Regions from separate parts of the Homo sapiens genome. Here region 1 is linked to region 2. The links are contacts of gene promoters, found by promoter capture Hi-C in blood cells and fetal thymus (Javierre and others, 2016). All regions are on one chromosome and are shown on one strand. The core of a region is centred on a gene start or on the middle of the fragment in contact, and the rest is flanking DNA. Distances in the headings are between cores, read along the strand shown.

Region 1 (3,606 bases), core at 683-3,182, 1.2 Mb before region 2:
GCAGTCTGTGTAGCACACTGGTAAAAAGTGTGAAGGCAGCATTCAGGCTTCCTGAGTTCAACTTTACCTGTACACTTTACTGGCTATGAGACTGGGAAGTTATGTAACCTTTCCATGCCTTGTTTTTCTTATTCCACAAAGAGCTTGATCTGTCTCAGTTTTTCAAGGAAAAGCTGATGTCCTTCACTTCCGCTGAACAGAGGCTAATCAAACCACAGCTTCATCAGTTCCTCACTTTCCTCACTTGCACAGCCCCTTCCAAGTTCTGGGAGGGGCTCCCGGAGGGTGTTCACATGTGTTTTGTTTTCTGGGTTTTTTTATTTGCAAAAGTGAGAATTTTTTTTCCACAATTGGTTAAGGTTGCTATCTTTTTCCACTCGGCCATTTGCTTTATCAGTTTTTCTCTGTTTAAGGGTGGTGGATTCGTCATTGCCAGTTTTGGCTCTGGCTAAGGAGAAGTTGAACTGGGGATACATTTAGCTTGGTTTTGGTAGGATTATCATTTATGTTTACAGTCACTTACTAGTAAATCATTGCCAGCCCTCCTGATGTCGAAATGGCCAGAAATACTGAAACTGCCCACTGTGCTGACTCAGTGTGGGGCATGGCACAAAAGTGCATGGCAAGAGATTGAATTGTGTTGTGAACATACCCCATGGGGAGGTGAAGTGTACAGGAATTAATCGTGGGAAATTCTCCCACGTTTCTTAGCTCATATGTGAAATATTTGAGAAATCAAGGAAACTGAGTTTGTTTTAAAATCAAATTTGATACTAGTCTAAATATTTACATGACGTTAGCAATAATGAGTGGTAAAGCTGAATTTAACAATTCTTAACTTTCACAATTAAAAATAAGTTAGTCACATTGGAGGTGAGACTGATCATCTGTTTTACAGAAAATATTGTTAACATTTATGTTACAGGATGAAAACATTTACAGACAAAAATTATAAAGAAAAGGTATTAAAGCTGTGTCTGAATTTTGTGATGTTAATTTTTCAAATGCGCAATTTGGTCTAAATTCTTTTTCTTATATTTAGTAAATATTTGCTTGGTAAGTAATTTGATATTTGTAAATTTGTATTATTTTCTTTAAGGAGAGTTTCCCAAGTTATATAAGCTTCAGGCCACACAAAACTTGTTTGTCCTTCTGCAGTTGACTATTTGTAGGAGGTGAAAGAAGACACTTTGGGCCTGTTTTCATCTAAAATGAGGATCAGGAGAAGATTACTCCCAAATATCTTTAAGGATCATTCTATATCTAAAGTACTGTGATTCTGTTTTCTCAGCACAATGACTGGGGTGCCAGGGTCCCTGGGGGTGCCCTCAAAGACAATGAATCTAAAAATGATGAATCAATGCCCTTTCTAGGAATTCCCTGGATAGAACATATGTGTGCGTTGGAGCGAGGGGGTGGGAGGAGATTGATGACAGCTGGATTCTCACGTTTGACGATCTGAAGGGTACCATTCCCTAGAAATTGTGTGGGAAATCAGATGATATGGTACCCTCAGGGAGTTCACCAATGCTACAGACCACCCCGACTCACTTCATTTAGGGAAGGTGTAATAGTTCTCTCATGCTGCATAACAAATTATTACTCAAAACAACACATGCTCATATCTCAGTTTCGGTGGGTCAGTAAACCGGACACAGCTTCACTGGGTCCTCTACTCAGGTTCTCACAAAACTGCCAAGTGTTTGCCGTGCTGTTGGTTCTCACATGGAGCTCAGATCCTCTTGCAAGTTCTTTCGGGCTGCTGGCAGAATTCAATTCCTTGTGTTTGCAAGACTGACATCCTTTCTTTTCTTTTCTTTCTTTCTTTCTTTCTTTTTTTTTTTTTTTTTTTTTTGCCAGATGTCAGCAATGCTCTCTCAGTTCCTACAGGACCTTGCCCCATGGCCCTTCCCACAGGCGGTTCACAACATGACAATTTCTCCTTTAAGGCCATTAGGACTCTCTCTCTGATCTGCTAAGGAGGGGTCTTACACAACACAATCCAGAGAGTGATATCTCATCATATTCATGGTCTCCTACTTATGTCGAAGGGGAGTGGATTATATAGGGTATGCATTTTAGGGGACGAGAATCTTGTTGTGTTTTTGGAATGTCTCTTATTCTTTAAGGTCTGGCCTTACCGTCATTCCTTCCATCATATGAATCAATACTCCCACAACACTTTGAACAAGATTGTATTTGGTTTATTCTGACCTGTAGTACACTTATTTATTAGGTTGTGTTACCTCCATTAGACTCTCAGCTACTTAAAGGCAAAAGTCATCATTCATTTTTGCATCTTTGTTAGTACTTAGGACAGCTCCTGGGACATAACTGGTGTCAGTAAACATTGAAAGATGGTGGTTGAAATAAGTCCCTTGAAGAATGGGAATTAAGAGGGAGATGCCACAGGTAAGCAGACCTGATCTATGTGGTGCTGCCGAGGTGAACGGTGATGGAATGCCTGGATAAAGGGCTGCCAGTGGGAACAGAAAAAAGACAACAAAGAGACATTGTGGAAACAGCATAGTGTACATGTGTATTGATATGTGTGTGCTGTGCTTGGGGTACATGAAGGAGAGGCTGTAGTCAGAGAGGATGCCCTGTGCTTCCTATTAAATGACCTGGTGAAGGTTAATGCTGTTATCCCAGCTGTTATCTGATAAGCAATGGGACAAGTTAGGCTGATTTGACATGTTGAGTTTAGTATTTCAACAACATTTCTAGATAATAGAAAGCTTACATAAGTCTAAGTCTAGATACAAGTCTATTATACACTTTATGATAATACAAGTCATCATTGGAGAAACGCTTGGTACTTGAGTTGGGCAACTTGACCTTCCAACCCTAGGATTCTGTGATTCTATCAGAATTGTTTTCTGTTGAGCAGGTTTTGTATTTTGAACTGATTTTCCACTTCTCCCTGTCATTTTTCATTACAGGAAGTAGAATAACAGTATAAAAAGAGTCTCTTGGTTTTCTTTAGTTTTCTAGTCACATTGGCAATAGAAATACAAGAATAAAGTGCTATATGCTTTTTAAATTCTCCTTCACACGTTTTCTTTTTAATACAGCTTTACCATCAGGGACTCCAGCTATTTTGTTTCTCCCCTTTAGCTAAGATCTAATCAGCTCCTTTCTATTTTGATTTCCAAGAAAATCAACCTGATACAAACTTTAAATGGAAAGGTTTCACCTACAACTGCTTACAGGTACCGCTGAAGTTTCTCTTTTCAGAACCCAGCTCCTGTGTAAGTAGGGCGAGCTTATCTCTGGGATTCATTGTGGGTGGTAAAGGCCGTTTTTGCCTTTGTTAGAGTGATCCAAGTAATTTCTCCATTCAGATCTCATTTATGTTGGAGTTCTCAAGATAACTCATATCATCTGTTCCTTCATTCCTTTGGCTTACAGGATATCTTCAAAATAATATCTGGTGCTTGGAGAAAGTGGGTGGACTCCATTGTGACTTGAGGTTAACATGAAAACCTCAGGTATCTCTTGAAATAGAGAAGTGTTCAGTGGAATTTAAAAACTGTTGATATTGAGCATAGACCCAATTGTTTGAAAAACTCAAAGGTTGAGAAATTCCAATAACAATTATGCTCC
Region 2 (3,470 bases), core at 898-3,397:
ATTGTCAAATTTAATATCCACAATTAATAGATGGAGAAAGTGAGGCTCAGAGAGAATGAACCTGCTCAAAGGAGGGGAAAGAAGATAATAATATAGAAATTGTTGAAGAGGAAGAGAGAGCAGAAGGTGGTGGCAGAGGCATTGTTACTGGAGGGAGGAGATGGTTTGTATTAAGGTCTGAGCTGATGGAGTGGCAATAAGGAAGAAGGCATCACTGCTCCAGGGATGTACCGTGACACTTATCTGAAGAAAGAAGAGAAAGAGCTAGCTAAAAAAAATAAATAAATAAATAAAAAATGAAGCCTTTAATCTGAGAGATCTTAAGCCATTTGGAGAGTTGGTTCATTTAAGAGAGATACCCAGAGTTAGCACCTTGTTGTAGCTTACTTGTTGTATCCCCACAAGCTCCTGAGGGGAGGAGAATAAAGCTTCAGGGAAGCTGAATGGTTTGTCCATAAAGCTGTCGAAGTCAGAACTAGAATTAGAAGTCTAGTTTTCTGCCTCCAAAGCTTGTATTTCTCTGACTGAACTATTGAATCTAAGCAAAAGTTGTCTGGTAGGTAACAGTCATAGTAAATGAAATATTGGCAAAGCAGTTAAATTAGCTCTAAAGATTAGTCCTAAACTTCTGTGATACTGAGGTTTTATTCTCTAATATAGGGAAAATTGACTGACATGGGGGCTTCCTCAAATATTTTTATACTCAGTATCCCTAGCACTTCTATTTTTTTTTGTCCTTTTCACAAGGACAAAATACAATATTATCAAGCCTTAATTCGTGCTTAAGGCTTGCCTGCAGTTGTATAGGTGGATTATAGCAGAGCTAGAATGATATATTAGGATTTCTTACTTCGAGTTCTTTATTTTTGAGACAAGTTCAATTAATCTAATTTTATTAATCAAATGTTCAAATCATTGAGAGTATTTGTAAAAGAAGTTAAAATTATAGCCCTGAGGTTCCCGTGCCCAGTCAACTGAAGATATCTGCTTCTCTACTGCTCATTATTCAGTATATAAGAATCAGTTAAAAATCCTGAGAAATAAGGGGGAGAAAGCAAATGTCAACCTTAAACACTCTGAATAATTTTTGAATGAAGCCATAGTAAAATTCACTGACATGAAGGAGACCTGAACTGTTATCTACAGAAAGTGCTCCTTAGAAAAGTTCTGTAAGCGTGCTGAAGAGTAGTACCAAAGTAAGAGAAAACACAGAATGTCCCTGGTGTTTTTGGTATAACACTATCAATTCTATAACTTATATAGGCATTAAAATTACCATAATTCATTCTCAAAAATGTTAAATTTTTAGAAGGAAAACTCATAAACAAATAATAATCACATTCCTAAACCTATAGAGTCTGTTATTCAAAGAAACAACATTTGAATTGTTAGAACTGAATTCACTGAGTGCACACTAAACCTGAAATAAAATTTTAAATTTCTTCTCCAACAGAGCTCAAATGTATGTTTCAGATTAACTCTCAATTCAATCATTGAATAGCAAGAGCACTACAAATACTGAAGAACAGGCATACTCTAAGTCTACTCCAACTATGTTATTAATATCATATTTGCATATTTGACATATAAGGAGAAAAACAGAAGATGCATTAGGTTTTAAGAACATAAGAGATAGAATTTCATTAGTTTAGGGATGTTTCTTAAGCTCCAGTTTTGATAGAAATAATGAGGAAAAAACCTTTCTTTTTTACCTAGGTTGTTTAGACCACTCTTTTATATTAAACATTTTTCTAATATTACACAATTTTGAGGAAAGCAAAATAACGCTAATAACATATATATGTATAGAATTATTATTTTGCATTCACTTTCTGTTTGTTTTGAAATGGAAGAGAAAAGCAATCTTATAAATATGAAATATCTGAATAAGCAATTAGTTCTACCTTAAGTTTGCATTACAAAAATATCTTTGATTTTCTACTCATTTTAGAGAGGGAAATATTACCACTCTAATTTTAACAAAATCAAGATATAATCAAAACATTTAAAGAGTCTGTGAAAGTAAAAATAATAGTTAAAAGAAGCATTAAATCTTTATCAATTTTTACATATAACTTACCTCGTGAAAGATCAGGAGATTCTAACTTTAGAGTACTGTCTCTGCAGTTTCTCCAAAACTCAGCCCTGGTGGTGAGTTTTCTCTCTGAGTTTTTATAGTCTCAGTTATACACCCCTTACTCCAATCCCTGCCTTTGCTTTCTCTTACATCATTTCTACAGATTTTCCACTGAACATTTTCCCAAGCCTCTCTTCGATCTCTTTCTCTCCCTCCCTCTCCCTTCCTTCTTCAGTTTCTCCCTCCCTCCTTTCCCTCCATATTTAGTCTATCTATTGCTTTGATCATGGCATTTAAATAACGATGGAAGTATAGGCTCTGGAAAATTTGAATATAGATTTAGTATTGTGTTCAGCTTCACACCCATCACCTCTTCCTGAGGTTTTAGTCAAGCTCTGATTATTACAAATCATATTTGGGAAATAAAATGCACTAAGATTTGTTAAAAAGTCACCAGGGAATTTCAATGTACGATATAGAGAGATTGTAATCAGACACAAACGGATTTATTGGTGTAATTTTTGGACCTTTAAATGATCAGCTATGGAAATAATGAGTACTTTCAGCCTCCGTCAGGTGCACAGTGCTGTGTCAGTGAAACACAATGACAGCTACTTCGTAATTAACATTGCTATACTGGGAAGGCTGTCACTAACAAACCTATAAATACTGAGCTGTGACATGTGAGCTATAAATGAAGACGTTGTAATCATTTTTGTCTTGCTCTTGTTCTTCAGTACTTTGATTTCTTTTTAACCAAAATATTTCTGCCTTTGGCTGAAGGTTTTCTTTCATTCTTATCTCCTACTAATTATATTTGCATCCTTACATACACAAATTATTTTTTAAATGAATTATTAAGTTATAAAGGTAACATGTTATGTTATTAGATCGTTAATGGCTCATTTGATTCACCAGAGGGTCCCCATCTGACAGGTAAAGAGGCCAAGGCTCAGATAAATTAAGTGACTTTATGAGATCACACACGTAAGAAGTAGTCGCAGAGCTGGATTTCAAATGCAGATCTTCCTAATTCCATATCCAGTTCTTTTCCCACGACTGCATTCTATCTCACTGCTTTAAAAGCTAGAAAAGAGAATCCAAACCAGATTATATTTTTGCACAAAAAGCAATAAATTTATTCTTTTTGGTTTCCCTAAAAAGGCCATTTAAAATACTAGTCACTAGTATAAGGACAATTACATGGTTAATTTGGATCTAGATGGGGAAACTGACCAGAGCACACAGAATTAGTGGGACAGTAAAATGCTTCATTTTTATGATGGGTTTCCAGGGATAACATATGTCTCAACAAGCTTGAAATTTGAGTAGTTGGCAGAGACAGTTCACAAATCAAGATAAAAATACAGCCTAATTGTGGACCCTTGTTTAG

Evidence for each region. The method cuts DNA at HindIII sites, captures the fragments that hold promoters and counts their contacts. A CHiCAGO score of 5 or more calls a contact.
Region 1: a contact is called between a fragment that was not itself captured here and the fragment with the promoter of OSTN in region 2, in 1 of 17 cell types (endothelial precursors). The highest score is 6.0, in endothelial precursors.

The regions. Positions count from the first base shown.
Region 1 is chr3:192,430,870-192,434,475 of GRCh38, reverse strand. All of the region lies in intron 2 of FGF12 (fibroblast growth factor 12), which reads left to right. Among named protein-coding and RNA genes, the nearest start is that of FGF12-AS2, 82 kb to the left of the region's middle. The HindIII fragment of the contact is 1,616 bases long and covers 1,125-2,740 here.
Region 2 is chr3:191,197,918-191,201,387 of GRCh38, reverse strand. It overlaps OSTN (osteocrin), which reads right to left and starts at 2,147. Exons shown (of 5, transcript NM_198184.2): 1 at 2,081-2,147. The HindIII fragment of the contact is 2,884 bases long and covers 512-3,395 here.